Linked DNA regions of Homo sapiens: regions 1, 3, 4 and 5 are each linked to region 2. The links are contacts of gene promoters, found by promoter capture Hi-C in human tissues and cell types (Jung and others, 2019). All regions are on one chromosome and are shown on one strand. Each heading gives the region's core, a stretch centred on a gene start or on the middle of the fragment in contact. The rest is flanking DNA. Distances are from core to core; before and after follow the strand shown.

What was found. Contacts are between HindIII fragments. The study calls those that stand out against the background at their distance.
Region 1: a contact is called between a fragment that was not itself captured here and the fragment with the promoter of PAPPA in region 2, in 1 of the 25 tissues and cell types used here (bladder).
Region 3: a fragment that was not itself captured here is called in contact with the fragment with the promoter of PAPPA in region 2 in 1 of the 25 tissues and cell types used here (IMR-90 fibroblasts).
Region 4: a contact is called between a fragment that was not itself captured here and the fragment with the promoter of PAPPA in region 2, in 2 of the 25 tissues and cell types used here (IMR-90 fibroblasts and lymphoblastoid cells).
Region 5: a contact is called between a fragment that was not itself captured here and the fragment with the promoter of PAPPA in region 2, in 5 of the 25 tissues and cell types used here (H1 embryonic stem cells, mesenchymal stem cells, mesendoderm cells and 2 more).

What each region holds. Positions count from the first base shown.
Region 1 is chr9:116,301,960-116,305,419 of GRCh38, forward strand. PAPPA (pappalysin 1) reads left to right here. Exons shown (of 22, transcript NM_002581.5): 10 at 798-991. All of the region lies in intron 4 of PAPPA-AS2 (PAPPA antisense RNA 2), which reads right to left. Among named protein-coding and RNA genes, the nearest start is that of PAPPA-AS2, 60 kb to the right of the region's middle. The HindIII fragment of the contact is 5,013 bases long and covers 1-3,460 here.
Region 2 is chr9:116,151,432-116,155,181 of GRCh38, forward strand. PAPPA (pappalysin 1) reads left to right here and starts at 2,360. Exons shown (of 22, transcript NM_002581.5): 1 at 2,360-3,156. The coding sequence starts at 2,742. The HindIII fragment of the contact is 11,414 bases long and covers 1-3,750 here.
Region 3 is chr9:115,994,807-115,998,617 of GRCh38, forward strand. The region is part of intron 1 of LOC105376236 (a long non-coding RNA gene); the gene reads left to right. Among named protein-coding and RNA genes, the nearest start is that of LINC00474, 72 kb to the left of the region's middle. The HindIII fragment of the contact is 8,116 bases long and covers 1-3,811 here.
Region 4 is chr9:116,018,784-116,022,553 of GRCh38, forward strand. No RefSeq gene overlaps it. Among named protein-coding and RNA genes, the nearest start is that of LINC00474, 95 kb to the left of the region's middle. The HindIII fragment of the contact is 3,305 bases long and covers 240-3,544 here.
Region 5 is chr9:116,283,497-116,287,202 of GRCh38, forward strand. All of the region lies in intron 9 of PAPPA (pappalysin 1), which reads left to right. PAPPA-AS2 (PAPPA antisense RNA 2) reads right to left here. Exons shown (of 6, transcript NR_170222.1): 6 at 2,332-3,706. Among named protein-coding and RNA genes, the nearest start is that of PAPPA-AS2, 78 kb to the right of the region's middle. RefSeq lists enhancers at 2,477-3,053, 3,054-3,628. The HindIII fragment of the contact is 4,653 bases long and covers 86-3,706 here.

The DNA.
Region 1 (3,460 bases), core at 684-3,183, 150 kb after region 2:
AACTGAAATCCTCTTTGGAGTTAAACAACCCCCAGTTTGCCTCTGTGAAATTCTTTTGTGTCAAATAATGCACTCAGAACTTGGAAAGTGAATGCCTGAGTTGGAGACCCAGATCAGGTATTAACACACTGTGTGATCTTGGGCAAGTTATTAAAGATGTATGGAATCTCAGTTTCCTCATCTGGAAGAATAATATCTTCCACATGAAGTTTTTATGAGGAATATTTCGAATAATGAAGGTGAAAGTGTTTGTGAACTTTTTATTACAGTATAGACACACAACACAAGGTCTACCTTCTTTATATATTTTAAATGTAAAGTACAATATTGTTAACTATAAGCACACTATTTTACAGCAGATTCCTATAACTTTTTCATGTTGCACAATTGAAACCACATACTCACTGAAAAGCAACTCTCCATTTCCTCCTCCCCCGAGATCCTGGAAACCACCATTTTACTTTCTACTTCTATGAGCTTCCCTACTTTACATGCCATCTATAAGTCGAATCATGCAGTATTTGTCTTTCTGTGACTGGATTATTTCCCTTAACATGGTGGCCTCCACGTTTCCTATAACATGGTTATCTCCTTGAACATGGTTCATCCATGTTGTTGCAGATGACAGAATTTCCTTCTTTTTTTTTCAAGACTGAGTAATAGTCCATCGTGACTAATGTGATGGGCTTGACAGTACCAATGGTTTTGGTGGTCTGACTCTGCAGCTGCTGATGATTGCTGAGGCCAAAGAACAAATATTTATTTATTCTCTCCCTTTCTATGTCAATCTTTTGCAGATGAACCCAGCCGGTGCTATTTCCATGATGGTGATGGGGTATGTGAGGAGTTTGAACAAAAAACCAGCATTAAGGACTGTGGTGTCTACACGCCCCAGGGATTCCTGGATCAGTGGGCATCCAATGCTTCAGTATCTCATCAAGACCAGCAATGCCCAGGCTGGGTCATCATCGGACAGCCAGCAGCATCCCAGGTAAGATCCTAACCATGTGTGGCATTTCCTGCAGACATTCAAAGTCTCCGCTATGCCCCACAAGGCTACTCACCTCTAAGGCAGTGTCATTGGCTATAGCCACTTGAGCATATCTTTATTAAATGTACTGTTAGGGCTTCATGAATACCATTTGTAAAAGATTAGATCTGGAATTGTTAGGGCAGGGAACATTGTATGATAGGGTAATGACTGTCCTCCTATTTCCTTGCCTGTAATAACTAATATTTGGAGAAAGAACTCCATTTTGCATATATCATGTATTTCAATGAGGTAAGAATGAATTTATATTGGAAGTCCCACTTTTTAGGGGGCGCCAAGCTGTGTACTACTTGAATTAACAGTAATTATACAGTAATTTGCTATGTGGCCTTAGACTAGTTCTCCCACCTCTCTGGGCCCTATTTTTCGACTCATCCTTAAAATAAAGAGTAGTTGAGCTTGTTGATCTCCAAGGGCCTTCCCAATTCTAAGAAGCTGTGACTCATGCCTCAGTCCCCTAATGCACTATTTATGTGCCACAGTTCTTCCCCAAGGGACTGACAGCTTAGTCCAGGGAGTGAGAGTTTTGGGGCCACTAGTGCTTGTATGATTCTAGAGATGGTCATGCTGTCCCGAGAGCCCCCTTTCCAATTATCCTACCAAGGAAGCACCTGCCTTCCCCGAGACTCAAATTTCCCAGAGACACGACTCAGTGCTTCTGGCTGCCTGGCCTAGTGGCCTTTCAGAGACCAGCCTGCCTCCTGGCCTTGCAGATGAGCTGCTATTCCCAGGCATTCCTTTCCAATATTGCTTTCTTGATTTAGGTTTAGTCGGGTAGCCCTGGCTTCTAGATGAAAGAAAGATATGACCTTCCTCTGGGGTCAAGTGAAGAATCACTGGGTGAGGTACAGAATAGGACTACCTCATTTTTAGTTGTTGCCTGTATTTGATTATTTCTTCATTCACTTTTTGTTTATGTTTACATCACTAAAGCCTTTATTCATTTGCATTTATTTTTGAATGCCCTCAGGAGAGTGGAAACAAATGGTAACATGGCATTTCCTGATGCTTAACAATGTATAGTGCCAGCCTGCTGAATGAATGAATGAATGAATGAGTGCACAGATAGATGAATGGCTAGGGTTCATCCTCCCCCTGTGCCACGTCTGTACTTGGTGGAATCATCTGTGTGGTTGCATTTATCATACTGAACTCTGAAGTATCTATTTGTCTGTCTGGCTCCCCCATTAGGCTGCTGGTTCTTTGAGAACAAGTTTCAGTTTATTCATCTTTGTCCTCTCATGTTCAAGCAAAGGCTAGATAGGTGCCCAGCAAATGTGTGTTTAATTGACTGTAGATACACACACATACACATACATACATCCCATTGCCACATGCAAATGAACGACACTGACAGAAAACACTCACGCATTGCCTCTCTATCACATAGAATGTCCTGCTTCAGAAACAACAGTGCTGGGGCCAGCAAGAGAACAAGGAATCCAAATTCAACACTAGCATCCAGTTCTTAGAAATGTTTTAAAAACAACCTTCAAACAAGAGAATTATTAACACACTCAGAACCTCCCATGAGGAAGAGTTGAGGTAGCAGCTGTGCTTAAAAATCACCCAAATGTTATTGCGACTAATGTGAGAAAAGGAGAGAAAGAATTTTCCAGTCTTAGCATTTGAAAAGAAGCTTCATGGGGCAATTATTCCAATCTTGTAAGGGGGGGCTGTCAGGAATTACTGGTGATTATCTCTTCCTAAACAAAAATCCAATTTAAAAAATCATTATAAATACTAGCTCTTCGATCTACAAAGAGGAGATGAGGAAACAAAATCATCCTATTGAATTATTCATTGTAACCAATTTTATTTTAATGAAATCGACTAGGTTCCATTACTCTGGGCTTGGACATAATCTTTGTTACAAGGAGATTTCAGCTGTAACTAAATTTGCCATAATGAGATCAGCTCACTGGAGAATACAGGGTCGGGGAGGGAATATGTGTGCAGGCTGGGTGCAGGGCCAGGAAGAGGGCAGCAGAACAAAAGTCTCCTGAATTCCTCATCTGAAAGCAAGTACCTAGAAGTCATTCACAAACACACACACACACACACCCTACCACCACCACACACAGAGGCACAGGCACACGCATACACAAGTACGTGGGCACACAGACACACACACACACACACACACACACACACACACACACACACGGAGTCTGCATAATTAGAGGTAAAGGCTATTCCTGAAGTGTAAACGTACCTTCCTTCCAACAACAGAGAATGAGGAGGAAGTATAATTGTGCTCTTCATTACCTTGTACAGTGATTAGAAGAGATTGGTAGTTAATTTTCACCCTGTCAGGGCTTCCAGTGAAGATGTTGATAGCTTGAGAGGAGGAGCTGGGAGGCTCTTAGAAGTTGGGCTTAGGAAGAAGATGGGAATTGTATCATGTGC
Region 2 (3,750 bases), core at 1,110-3,609:
GAGAAATAACTTGGCCTCCTCAATTCTTGTTTGTCTTTAAGAACCTGAGGAGCACTTTGTCTTTGACAACAACAATAGAACAAATGGTATTCGTATATCATTTTTATTGTTTACAAAAGATTATACCCCAGAGCATATCTTGTCCTCAAAATAAATTTGCCAAGTAGATATTCCCATTTTAAAGGTAAGGAAGTGGAAGGGAAGAGAAATGAAGTGTCTTACTCAAGGCCAGTGAACTGATATGTGTTGGAGGGAGTAGGAAATGAGAAGTAAAAATCTTGTGCTCCCACTGCTGGTCTGAGAATTGAATAATTCCCAGTTGTCTAGGAATATTCAAAATTATTGTATACAATGACTTAAAATCCCCCTGGAAGACATGCAGTTTCTAAATGCCTAATTGCCACAACTGAAGTAAATCAGTAGTCATGGTCCAACCTCTATTGGAGAGGAAGGGGGATTTTGAATGATACAATTTATGTTGTTCAACATAGCTCTCTTTTTATCCAATGGCAACCTTTTACAGATGACTTGGAGTTGCAAAAAGTCAAAGATTTGCTTAGGCAAATTCTTTATTCATGACATTGTGCACCCAAGATTTTCTTTCCTCCAGCCAGTCTCTGGAAACACATTTAGGGTATTGTGCTATTTTCATTTTATGACTACAGAAACAGAGTTCAAACGTTCTTAGTCTAAGACTATTCAGCAACTTCTTTCTAAACTAGGAAGGTATGAATCTGAGATCTCCCATTTTCAGAAAGCTTCCATAATCTTTGCATATATCGCATTCCAGCTTTCATAGAGGGGATGTCTGAGTCATTTGCTCATCCGACAAATCGTCATACTTTTGCCAACAAACATTCTTCCTTGGTTTTCTCTCTTCCTGAAGCGTGTAGCAATGTTCCTAGCTCTCAAGAAAGATCTGGAGCAGCTCGGAAGATAAGAGCAATTGAAGAAGAAAGTTACAATTTAGTGGAGTTAATTTTATCGCAGACTTTCAGCACGCTATTCACATGCAAACTTCACACAGAATATTTTTATCACTACCTTATTGGAATAGATTGGTAATTAATAGCTTGTAATCCACCATTGCTAACATGTTTTGACTTATTAAACACTTGGACAAAATAAAAGAAGATCTGTTTTGCCATAAGGGGGAGCTTTTGAGTTCTATAAAGAGGGGGAAAAAAGAAGAAAAAAATATATTACATGTATGTCCCAGTTCAAAAACAGACCTACAAAGCAGCAAATGGTCAGATCCTTACCTGTGACTTTAACAATTTCAGAGGACCTGAATTGCTTAAGTTGAAAACATTAGGCAAATTAATATTTTTCTCTCATTTTCTTCTTATAAAATTAAAATAATTTCTAATGACCAACAGAGTATTTTAAAGAGTATTCGGGGAAATTCAGAGACCCAGTTGTACTAGGACTACAGCTTCTGAAAGGCAGATGTCCTGGACAGTGCCTTTCTTCTATTTTCTTCTGATGATTCCATAAGAACTTTGGAAACATTTGGGTTAGCTGAAGCCAGCCTTATCTGGGGGCTCAGAAAAGAGGGGAATGGTTCATCATCGTACAACTTTAAGGAAATTCTGAGAGGGAAAAGGACAGGGAAAAGAAGAGGGAAAGAGGTAAAGGGAGAGGAAGCGGGAAGAAGAGTAAGGGAGAGAGTGAGAAAAAGAGAAAGAGAGGGAGAGGGAGGGAGGGAGAGACAGAGAGAGAGAATTAAAAAAAAAAATCTAAGAATCAAGTTTCAAGACTCTTTATGTGCTACAGAAAAGGATGAGGTTTACCAGCAAAGTGCAAAGGGGATCCTAAGAGAAGAGACAGATTTTTCTCCTGCCATCAGAAATAATAATAATAAGTGGGGGGAGTGAGGGAGGGAAAAAAAGCAAGCAAAACAAAACAAAAACAGGAATGTGTGTTTTGAGCAGGAATGAGAGCTGGGAGGACCGTAAGGGGGTGTGTACAGAATTTCATTAAATTGTTACTTTAAGATTGTCTCCTTAAAAAAAAAAAAAAAAAAAGAGAGAGAGAGAGAGAGAGAAAAGGAGGGGGTGGTGGAGAAGCGGGAGCGAAGGAAAGGAGGCAAAAGGCAAAGTGAAGGAAAGCTGGATAGCTCGGCCTCTCCAAACTGATTGATTAGTCATGATCCCCGCAGTTTTAACAGGGACTCATTCAATTGGGAAGGTGGAGCGCTGGGGAGCAGATTAGCATACGCTTGTTTACTCATCTTCTGAGGGATTTTTTCCCCCTCTTTCCTTTCATTTTGAGAAGAAGGAGGGAGGGGAGGGGGGACTTGGGGGGGGAGAAGGGGGCTGTGGCTTGTGTTATAAAGGACGCAAAAAATAAATAAATTAGAGCATCTTTTGGGGGGAGGGAATTCAGCGGATCAGTCTTAAGAGGAGCTTTTTTTTGGAGCGAGAAATCATATAAAATAAAATGAAATAAAACAAGGAGGAAGGCAACCAGCTGTTAGGGGAAAAATAAGGCAGATAAAGGAGCGGGGAGAGAAATTAATTGCCAACCAGGAGGAGTTGGGCTGTATTTTTCAAAGGTGGGGAGAGTGGAGCACACACCTTGAGGAGGAAAGCGAGAAAGAAAAGAAAAAAGCAAGTGGAAAGGGGGGCTCGCCCAAGAAGGGTGAAGAAGCGAAGAAAGTCGAGGCGCCGAGGCTCCCAAAGCTGGCAGCTCCGGGTGGCGGTGCAGGGGCGAAGGGGGGGCGGGGGGAACCGTCGGACATGCGGCTCTGGAGTTGGGTGCTGCACCTGGGGCTGCTGAGCGCCGCGCTGGGCTGCGGGCTGGCCGAGCGTCCCCGCCGGGCCCGGAGAGACCCGCGGGCCGGCCGACCCCCGCGCCCCGCCGCCGGCCCGGCCACCTGCGCCACCCGGGCGGCCCGCGGCCGCCGCGCCTCGCCGCCGCCGCCGCCGCCGCCGGGCGGTGCCTGGGAAGCCGTGCGCGTCCCCCGGCGGCGGCAGCAGCGGGAGGCGAGGGGCGCCACCGAGGAGCCGAGCCCGCCGAGCCGGGCGCTCTATTTCAGCGGGCGAGGCGAGCAGCTGCGCCTCCGGGCCGACCTCGAGCTGCCCCGGGACGCGTTCACGCTGCAAGTGTGGCTGCGAGCGGAGGGGGGCCAGAGGTCTCCGGCAGTGATCACAGGTAGGTGAGGGCGCCTCGGCGGGCGCTGCACCGTCCCTGCGGCCCCAGAGGCTCGCGGGTGTCTGGGCGCGGGTGGCGGGCGGGTCGGGGGCTTGCGGGCGTGTCTGTGCGAGAGCTGCCCCGCGAGCGGCGCAGAGACATCCGGGCGAGCTGAGAGCCTCACTTTGCTCCATCGGTGGAATGGGCACACTCGGAAGGCGTAGCTGCTCCATCCCTGGGAGGAACCTGGGGAGCCCTCCTGGCGGCCCCGCGGACCCTCGGCCAGTGAGGGCTGGTTCCCGGAGCCTAGGGCACGTAACCCGTGCTCCGAATGGTCAGATGCACTCTCTCCTTTTGGGATGAAAGGGAGGATGACCCAATTGAGATGCATGTGAAAGGAGACTTGGGGACCGTTGATTTCTTTGACGTTTTAATGGAGGTAACTCCCCTTCATTAGGCCCCATTCCCCTGAAAGCCGGCAAGGGCAAGGTTGTTGTAATGGCCAGGACTTAGAAGTCCTCGAAGTGCCCCAAAGTTGCTCACTGATTGAAGCCTGCCTCTGGGACTCACCCTCACCCCCTCCACGCCATCCCATGTCCTAGCTTTTAAAGCCCA
Region 3 (3,811 bases), core at 875-3,374, 160 kb before region 2:
ACAAAATTGTTCCTTTGATTTGAGAATCTGTGATGCTCTCTCAATTACTGTATTTTGAATAACAAATTTTGTTTGGGAAAGGTATATTATCTGGAAATGTTCTCAGCCAATTCTAGGGTTAGATTCTTACAGAAGTCATCTAATAGAAGCAGAATTTCTTTTTAAAGGCAGTTAAATGTAATCAATATTTCATAACAGCCTCATGTCTGGGGAAAGAAAGAGAAGGAAAGAAGGAAAGAAGGAAGGAAGGAAGGGAAAGAAGGAGAGAGAGAGAAAGAAAGAAAAAAGAAAGAAAGAAAGAGAAAGAAAGAAAGGAAGGAAGGAAGGAAGGAAGAAGGAGGGAGGAAGAAGGGAGGAAGGAGAGAGGGGAAGAGAAAAGAAAGAAAGAAAAAAGAAAAAAAGGAAGGAAGGAAGGAATGAAGAGAGAGCCTTTAGATTCTGTGGCCCTTGTTAGAATTCCAAGGAAGACATTATGTAAACGTTCTGAAGCCTTCCTAATTTTGACTAATACAGAGCTATTGGTATAAATCTGTATTGCTCTGAATTACACAAAGTTTATATTTTTACACAAAGTTTAAAAATAAATGTAGATTGTCTTTTAAAAAACATATGTTAATTCAAACAAATTGCCAAGTAGGTGTCTCTAGGGACAAATCTTAGTCAATAAAAAAGAGTGATTTTTTATAAGTTTATCAGCTGATATGTAAAGTGTTTGAGAATAGCTCATTCTCTTACAGTGTTTAAACATTCTTTCAAATGATATCAAAGTTGTTTATTTATTTGATAAGCAAATCCTTTTTTCTCAAAATAATGTAGTGGTAAACTTCATTCATTTATGTGTCCTTACTGAATATTTTATGTTCACTTTTCTAAGATTTAAAATATTAAGAAAATTCATAAAGTTATTTTTATTAAGCTACTTTAGAAGAATAAAAACAGATTTAAGAAAGCTATTGATTCATTTTAAAAATACTTGGTTTCTCATCAATTTTAGAAATTTCTACAGGAAGAACTTTACTGAGGCTAGAGTGGGGGTAGGTAAGAAGAGGGTTGCAAGTTTGGGAAAATCTCTACCAGATGTTTGATTTCTGTTAAACTTTTCACCACCAGTCATCTGGCAGGATTTTCAAAAGACAGATATCAATCTCTTTCTTACAACTTACACCCTATGTTCTAATATTTCTAAATATTAACACACCATCATAACTCAGTTTTTACTGTCAAGAAAATATCAGTGAGATCGTGTTTACCCCTCATGTGCACACCATCACATAGTGCACTCTTTCTTCTACAAAATCCCCATTCTCCTTCGTGACTTTCTCTCCTTCATCCACAAGGATCACATCTCTGCCATACATCCATGGCTATGTTCCTTGAGTTATTTATTCCCAGACTGTAGGGAAACTACTTCTAAAGTAGAATTATAGTTCACACTGTGGTGAGCTATAAAAGAAACAGATTATGAAGTTGAATAGACCTGGTTTTAAATCAAAGTTCTGGCATTTTCTAGCTATATGATCTTGAACAAGCACTTAATCTCTCTGAGCCTCTGTTTTCATAGCACTTTTGAATGAGTTAAGTGAGAAATATAGAGAAAATCCTTATCTCAGTGCCTAATACCTAGTATTAGATATAAGGGGCAAAATAAAGGGTAGGTGATCATAATTTTCATCATCATTATCATCTTTGTTATGGGATAGTGTAATGTACTGAGGCTCCTTGGAACTGAACTCACGTCTTTGACTGCCCAAAGTCATAAAAAATGTGGTAAATTTTCTTTTAGCCATTCAGCAAATATTTACTGACCACACTGTTGCGCAATCTCTGGGAAGAAGCAGTGTACATAACATGGGCATTGCCCCTCCACCCCCACCTTGCATGCAATTAAACAATTAGTCATAGAAACTAGCATACAGTTATAAATGGAAAGTGGTCGACCAAGTGAGAGGGAGATGCCAGGTTATTGTGAGAAAAGATGTGTGTGTGTGTGTGTGTGTGTGTGTGTGTGTGTGTTTAGGTGAAGCATGTATTAGAATTAACCAGGTTTGAGTAAGGAAGTGAACATTCCACATGAAAGGAACAGTAAATGTGAAAGCTCAGAGATATAAAAAGACCATAGAAATGTGTCTTTCTTAAAGACACATGGCTTCCTTGTTCACTTTAGCCACATTATCTTTTAACTTTCAAGAAAATTAAGGAGAGATGGGAGAGGTAGATGAATATCAGAAGACACAAGGTATAATAGGCCACGCACAGAAGGAGCTTGGTCTTTATTCAAGAAGTAATGGGCAAACATTTAAGTGTTTAGGCAAGGCAATAACAAAAATGAACTCATAGATACATTTTTTTCAGAGGGAGGGGACGGGGACTCACTATAGTCCCCAGTCTGGTCTGGAACTCTTGGGCTCAAGAAATCTTTCCATCTCAGCCTCCCGAGTAGCTGGGACTACAGGCGTGGTCCACCATGCCCCAACTCCCCAACTAATATTTTTAAATGCCAACTGACTATTAAAATTGTACTGGAGGTGAGGAAGTAAGTTGATAGGAAAACCATCACAAGATTTCTATAGTAGGTTAGGAGAGAAGTGACAAGTGGCTTGGAGAAAGAAGGTAACAGAAAAAAATGCCCTTTGCCAGTATATCCTTTGACTGTGCTTAGCTACGATGACCAAGTCATAAATATGTGTGCCCTCTTGCTGCCAGTCTATCTGCGGGGCAGGGGAATCACCACAGAATATTGGAGTTGACATGAAAGAGGTAGTGATCTGTGCTTCACAATTAATTACATCATAATTAATTACAACGTTCAACCTTATGCATTCATTCTTTTTTTTTAACTTATCACACATTTATAATTATGAGGATCTATGAGAATCCCTAGGTAATGGTTCATGTTAAGTGAGTGACTGACTTTTCATAACTTCAGCATTCTCTCATTTATCCTTTTTTAAACTAGAAGGGCATGTTTAGCAGACACACAAAGGAGACAGGCCCACTTGCCACTCTGCCTGTTCTGATGGGCTGGGAACAAGTAGGCTCCAAGACTCAGAAATGACTGTGGTTTCTGCTCTACTCTCTGGATAATCTAACTACCCAGGGGATAGAAGATTTGTGCCTACCAGATTAAAAAAAAAAATCCTTATTTTTGGTTCTACTGCTACCAGCTTCTTTGACTAATTTTGAAATTATGTCTCCTTTCTTTCAGCCACATTGTTACAAATTTATTATCTAGGCTGATGATATCATCTGGAGAGGGTCCAGGACTGTGGTCATTCAGCTCCTTTTTCCACATTACATAGGCAGCTTCTTCTCTCCCCTTTCAGGTCATTAATTTTTTAAAAGAGGGCTTGCTTTAAATATCTAGAGGAGTGCTTTCAGCTGTGACACAGAGAAGGTTTCCCCTTTCATAGCCTGCAACACGTGCCTGCTTCTGATTGAAGGCTGCTTGCCCAAGTGGGCATTTGAGATCCCTCAAAGTGTCTCATGAGAAGTCTTTGGTCAAAGTCATGCTAAAGGCACTTGTTAACTTTGTTTTCAAACTGGAAACAAACTGGAGAAGGAGTAGGAGACCTGACCTGGAATTGTATGTAATGGGCTATAGGCCAGGAGATTGGAACAGCTTCTCCACAGATTTATTGTGGGGTGTTAGTAATTCCTTTATGGCTCAGCATCCTTCTGTGTAAAATGAGAATGGCTTCATCCCTCATCTCTAATTTTCAGGAGTGCAGGAAGCATTGGAAGAGGTACCAAGTTTTCTAAAAGCACTTTGAAGCTCATACATTCTACAAGTATGTATTGAGCACCGAATATA
Region 4 (3,770 bases), core at 642-3,141, 130 kb before region 2:
TTTTTTGTAGAGATGAGGTTTCACCATGGTGCCCAGGCTGGTCTTGAACTAATGGGCTCAAGTTATCCACCTGCCTACACCTCCCAAAGGGCTGGGATTACTGGTGTGAGCCACCATGCCTGGCCCTCTTTCTTGTTTTTTAATATAGACATTTATTGCTATGCACTTCCCTCTTAAAACTACTTTTGTTGCCTCCCATAGGTTGTGTTTTGCTGTGTTTCCATTACATTTGTCTCCATATACTTTTAGATTTCCCTTGTGATTTATTGTTTGACCCATTGGTTGTTTCTTTATCCAATCTTGCCTTCCCTTCCATAGATATTGATTCTGAAAGCACAACCAACCTTTCTGTACTCTGATCTCTGTCTTAAAGTCTCCTTCTTAGCAAACCAACCTGTGCTTTCTTCTTTCATATCTTTTCTCCTTTCAGCTACAATCTGATTTTTCTTGTGTTTACAGCAAAACTGAAAAGATTTTTTTATATTCATCATTTTCACATCCTTACCTTCCATTTTCTCTTGAACACACAACAATTAGACTTAGTTGCTGCTGCTCCATAGAAACTGTTCTTGTCAAGGTCACCACAAATTCATCCTGTCAAGTCCCATCATCCTCATGTTGGATTACCTCTCAGCAACATCTGCCATAGTTAAATAATCTTCTTCCCAAGAATGTACTTGGTTCCTGGGATATCACACTCACTTGGTTTTCCTTTCCTCACTTGCTGTTTCTTCTCAGTATCTTTTGCTGGGTCACCTTCATCTTTCCAATCTTTAAATGTCTGTGAACTCCAGAACTTCATCCTTGACTTTCTTATTCATCTTCAATTACTCCCTAGGTCAAAAATCAGCAAACTTTTCCCATAAAAGACCAGATAGTAAATATTTTAAACTTTAGGGCAATGTGGTTTCTGCTGCACCTACTTAACTCTGCCATTGTAGTGCAAAAGTTTCCATATAGAATATACAAAAACAAACATTTTCATGTTCCAATAAAAACAACCAATGGCCATATTTGGACTGATGGTTATAGTTTGTAGATCTCTGTTCTATGTAATCTCATCTGGTTCCACAACTTTAAATGTTATTACTGACTACCGTAAATTCCAGACTGAGATAGTTAAGCTGCTACTTGGCATCGCTCAAAAGTAGTATGTACTAAAAGGAAACTTTGGACTTTTGTTGATCTATTCCTCAACCTGTTTCTCTCCCAGTCTTTCTTACTGGCAATGCAAGACACATCACCATTTGCGCCTTATTGATACCACCTCATTACCTTTATCCTTCATTGCCAGCCAGGTTCAAGACATGAAATTCATTCATCTGGATTAGTTCAGTAGTATTGAGCAGGTCTTTCTGCTTTCCCTCTAAGCTCCCAAGAGCCTAGTCTTTGTAGAATGGCAAAAATAAATTTCTTGAACATTTCTTTTAAAAAAGAAAATTAGATTTTAACATTTCCTTCTCATTTTGAACAAATTTCAAGCTTCTTCCCAAGACCCAGAAGGTCCCAAATGATCTGGTCTTTCCTCACGTTTGTGGTTTTGTGGTCTGTTCTTCATGCTCATTCCCTCCCAGCCACACTTGTCTTTTTGCTGTTTTGAGTGTTCAGTTTATACTTGCCATGAGGCCTTTGCTGACCCCTCTATTTGGAAATATTTTCCCCCAATTTCTAACTTGCCTCATATCCTTAACTAATTTGGGTTTTTGTTTAAATATCATCTCTTCAGAGAAAGATGTTTTGATTCCCTATCTTAATAGATTCCTCCCATCATTACCCAGTTCCTTTTTACCTTGCTTTATCTTTTAAAAACGATACTTAATGAGTACCAAAAATTATTTTGTACATTTATTTCTTTATTTGTTATTTCCCTCTACTACAATAAAAATTTGAGAGGGCAGAGACCATGTGTCATTTGTTTCTTGCTCTATTTATGATGCATATAAAAGTATGTGGAATGTATCAGGAAAACAATAAAAATTTGTTATTGTTTTTCATTTAAGCATGATGTATTTAGAACATACATTTTTCTTAGAATCTTCTGAAATGCCATGATCATGCCTGTAAAGGAATAAACATGGTATAAACCCAGAAGTACCCAGTGGAAAAAAATAGAAGGTGTAAGTAAACAGATGAGGTATGTCAACAAAATTCAGGAAGATGGGAAGCAGATGGATTAATGAAAACCACATCATCAGTGGTGAGGAAGCAGAAACCCAAATGACTGAAGGAGCATGAAGAAGATCAAAAGAAACAAGATGATTCATGCCACAAAACTTTGCAAAGGCTCAGGAAAGTCACCTGGTATCTTACAAGGTAGGAATGAGGAGACAGTTGAAGAGAGGAGGATTCATTGAAAGTTAATTTTTAAAAAGTTTTATAATTCCAGATTATCTTCTCCTGGCCAGAATGCCAGGTGCTGCTCTTCCCCAAACCAGGCCGAAAGAACGTGGGAATTTTATTCTTTGGAGAAGTGAAACTAAAGATGCTCTTGATGTGGATACCCAGGACAAAGCTGAGGTTGAGATAAGACATGTATTAAAAATAGGAAACTTAAGCAAAAATCTACAACCTGAATGGCAAGATTGCTAAGCTCCCTTTTCTACAACTTGACTTCCTTCAAGATGGAAGCTGGTTTATATGCCCAAAGTCAAGGAGAGTGAAAGGTTTCTCTCTAAGAAATTTGACCAGACTAAAACTACAGATATTCACATTTGAGGGAATCTCCAATAATATGGTCAAGTCCCTGTTTTAACATCATTCAATGAGGCCCACCAATCAGAAAGTCCCACTCACACAACCTGAAATTCAAATTAATTTTTCGCTACCTTAAATCTTGTTGATGAATGAATACTCAAGGACTGGCAGATATTTGAGTAAATCCTCTAACATGAAAGGCAGAAACCAGAGCAAACTAAAAATGGAAGCTCAAAAAACAGAATTTCTGTAAAGACCAGAAGAAAAACTAAAAAGAAAAAAGAGAAAGCTAAACAAATATAGTGTTCTTATAGAAATAAGATAATATCCAGCATTCAAATAAAAACAAACAAAAGGTAGGATCTTATGAAAGAAGAGCATTCAGAAAATAAGAACAAGCTTTTGAAAATTAAATATATAATAGCAGAATCAAAATTTAAATAGATAGGATAGAAGAAAGATGTGTTAGTTAATTTTATATGCTAATTTAACTGGACCACAGGATACCCAGATATTTGGTCAGACATTATACTGGATGTTTCTGACAGGGTGTTTTTGAATGAGACTAAAGCAGGATGCCCTCCATAATGGGAGTTGGTCTCAACTAATCTATTGAAGGCCTGATTAGAATAGAAAATGCTGAGCCTCCCCTGAGTAAAAAAAAAAAATTCTTCAAGAGACTGCCTTTAAACTTCATCTGCATCATCAGCTCTCCCTGGAACTCTGGCTGCCACCTTTGGAATGAAACTGGATCATAAACCCTTTTAAGTCTCAAGCATGCTGATCCACATTTTAGATTTGGAATATAGAGAAACAGATGGATAGATAGATAGATAGATAGATAGATAGATAGATAGATAGACAGATACCCTCTCATCCTATTGATTCTCTTTCTCTGAAAATTCCTAATTAAATAAATTTGAAGATACAAAAGTACAAAAATATAAAAATATGAAAAATAGGAGAAAATACATAAAATCAAACTTTTTACACCATAATCTGTTTAATTGTAGTTCCAGAAATAGAAGACAGGTGAAAAGGAAGAAAGAAAAATGTCAGGGAAAAGTGACAAATCC
Region 5 (3,706 bases), core at 1,162-3,661, 130 kb after region 2:
GCAAGCAGTAGTTTCTGGGCAGAGGCATAACATGATAGGAGCAGTATTTTAAAAAAGATCAACCTCCCTGAATGGGATGCTCTTCAAGGGCCAACAAAATACTCTTGGCAAACTGACCCAAAGAGAAATCAGGGTGATTTTAGCTTTCAACAGCAGTCAGAAACCCAGCCCAAATTATCCGTAAGTTTAAATTTAACTATCAGCCGCCATTGGCAGGACTCTGAAAGGTCCTGGCTGGAGTTGGTTCCTCAGTTTAGGAGTCCAAAACCACATGTATAGCTTGAGTTCAGCCTCATTACCAAGGAAGGGTCTCCACAAGAGTCTGAAATCCCTTTTCCATTTGTCCCGTGTGCATTTTGCCAAGAGAACTTCTAAAGGGACAGGGAGGGAGGAAAAGCTGATTGACCAGCCCCGAAGCACAAGGACCACTTGTCTGCCTCAGGGTTCATCCCCCAAATACCTTTTTCCACCTGAGAAGTAGGAGTGATATTCCTGACTTCATATGATTGTTATGATATATTGTTTTATTAATTTATAAACTTATTCATTCATCACATAGGCTTTTATTTATTGAGCACCTCTTATGTGCCAGGTTCATGCTAGACACCAAGGATGCCTGTGTTTGTGACAGTTCCTGTCTTCCAGAAAGTGATCAACAAATATTGATTATTATGGCTAACAAAAATAATAATCTAGTTCTTACTCACAAGTAGAGAGTGACCTGTCCCCGGAAGAGATTGAGCAGAAATTTGAGAATCATTCTTTAGGGAAGTCATGCATGAGATTCTATTAAATAGCATGTTCAAACAGACATATTTCAATATTTTTCTCTTTTGTCTTATCTGGCTCTTTCTTGAAATTCAGAACTCCTGGTACCTGTGAAGTGTTAGCCTCTTCTGTTTTTCTTAACTTTTCTGACCATCCCTCCACAGACCTTCTTTCACCTACTCTTTAAGTATCAGCAGTCTCCAATGTTCCATAATAGGCACACTTCTCATTCTCCATTCTCTCCTTGTATGACTCCAAAATCTCTATCTTTAGTCTGGGCCTTTTTTTTTTTTTTTTTTTTTTTGACCCATGAACTTGTATATCTAATTGCTCTACTTTGACGCCCCAAGGGAACTCACATTCGACACATCTTACACAAAGCTTGCCATCTTTCTTTCCAGACCTGCTGCAAGTGTTTTTCCTAATCTCAACTGGTGGCGCCAGTAGCCAACCAGACATTTAAACAGAAGCTTGGGAAACATCCATAACTCTTCCCTCTCTGCCATTTCCCACATCCAAATAATTGCCATTCTTCCCATTTTACTTTGAAAACGTTATCTTGTCTGCGTCCAAATCAGTCTCTCTCGCCCCATGATCATTACTCTACCTGAGGCCCTCTTCAGCTCCTGATTAGGCTTTTATAAGAGAAAGCTTGTAAAATGAACATGTTGCTTGTTCATTTTTTTGCTTGCCCCAATCTACCTGCCCATAGGTGAGAGCAAGTTTCCTAAAGTGCAGACACCTTTTGTTGCTCTCCAATTGAGAGTGTCAGATGGCTCCATGTTGCCCTTGAGATAAATTTAAATTCCTTACTGTGTCATTTAAGACCTTGCGTGATCTGAGCCCAGGATTTGCTTTTCTTTTCTTTTTCTTTTTTCTTTCTTTTTCTTTTTCTTTTCTTTCTTTCTTTTTTTTTTTTTTTTTTTGACAGATTCTCACTTTGTTGCCAGGCCAGAGTGCAGTGGCACTGTCTGGGCTCACTGCAACCTCCACCTCCTGGGTTCAAGTGATTCTCCTGCCTCAGCCTCCCAAGTAGCTGGGACTACAGGCACATACCACCACACCCAGCTAATTTTTGTATTTTTGTAGACATGGGGTCTCACCATGTTGGCTAGGATGGTCTCGATCTCTTGACCTTGTGTCCTGCCCACCTCGGCCAGGATTTGCATTTTATACTCCAATACCATCTTGTGCTTTATACCTCCTACTATATTGCTGGCCTCATCTCATTTGCTCACAGTGTCCCCCTGCTGGAATGTGCTCCTCACCACCCGTTCCTCCTCTGAGAGATACAGCCCAGGTGTTGCCTCCTAAGGGAAACCTTCTTAAATCTGGGTTAGATTGGATTGGGGGTCCCTCCTCTGTGCTCCCACAGTATCTTGTACCTCATGAGGGTCAGAATCCTGTGCCGTCATCATTTACATATCTCCCCTCTCACTAGGACCTGAGTTCTTGGAGCACTGAGACCTGCTTTAATTCATCTGATTTCCCAAGAGTTAGTCCAGGGACTGACAAATAATTTGCAGTTCAGTAAATATAGAATAAATGAGTAAAAGAAGGATGTATTTCTTAAGAGACAGTTTTATTTTTCAGGCAAGAAAGTGTAGTTGAGCTTTGCTGGTCTTTAGAGTCAGACAATCCTGTTTGAATAGGAGACTTTCCCCCTTAGCTGTCATCTCGGGCAGGTTATCTTGGGTCAGGTGGCTTGGGGTGGTGGTTTCATGCTCAGACCCCTGAACTGGGCTGCTTGTATCCAAATCCTAGTTCCCCCACAAAAGGGGTGGGGGCTTCTTTAAAATGTTAATGTTACTATATCGATACACCAAGAGGTAGAAAGTATGCTATCTTAGCCAGCAGTACTTTTTTGAGGCTTCTTTCACTAAGTAGAGACGGGCTCAAATGCTGCCTTTCCTTCTCTATCTCTATACTGACAGAGGTCATTACTCTTTGGTAAGGTCCAAAGGCTTTAGAATTTTAGAAGAATGGGTGGGTGGAACCAGTGATTTTGGTGGTATTTGGATCACCCCATAAGACTCTCGGATGGCCCCAAATTGAGCTGCTTTTTAATACCAAATCTCAGTCTGCGGCTTGCTTCCATTTGGGGAGAGAGCCTAATTAACTCGTAGCTGGAAAGAACTGCAGGTCTGCCACCCCCCAGGCAGAGAATTCAAAAGGAAGTGGATAGCTGTGTAAATAACACTGCTTTAAGGGGCATTTAAGCCAATGCTCTTTGTTAAGGAAATTGATGGCTTTGTAAGTACTGCGTCTGAAGGGAGTACTTGAGCTGAAGGTCCCCATCTCGCCTCGTAAATTTCCTAATGGACTGTGGGCCTGCAGGCTGGGCCCAGCGTGTTCAATCACTTGCCAACAAAAACTCGGATTTCACTCTAAAAAAATTAAAAACGTTTAACCAAAACATAAGTTATTGAGCCTGTGCAGTTTAACTGTGGCACAAGGTAGCAGAGACAGATTACTTCCTTTAAGGAAAGGGAAACTCCTCATCTTTTACTTTAAAAAATTTGTTTTTTAAATGCTGGATGTGGTGCTACGTGCTTTCTCAACAGCTTCTCATTTTTTTGTCCTCATAACAGTTGGGAAGGTAGTCATTATTTTGCCAATTTGCCAAAGAGGAAACGGACTCAGGGCTAAAGTGTGCTGGTCATTGACACCAGCTAATTAGTGAAGAGCCAGGTTGTGATCACAGCTCCATCAGGCCCCTGAGCCCCCAAGTAGTGCCAAATCATAGGGCATCCGAGAGAGAATCAGATCAGCCCATCTCATCAGATTCTCCTGAATATCCACATCCATTCAAAATAGATTAACTGGACAGCATGGGAATGACTTACCCTCTTGAAACCTCAATTTCATTGTCTGTAAAATGGGGATAATAATAGGACCAAACACGGGGCTCTTCTAGATTTGAATGCCTTATGTACTT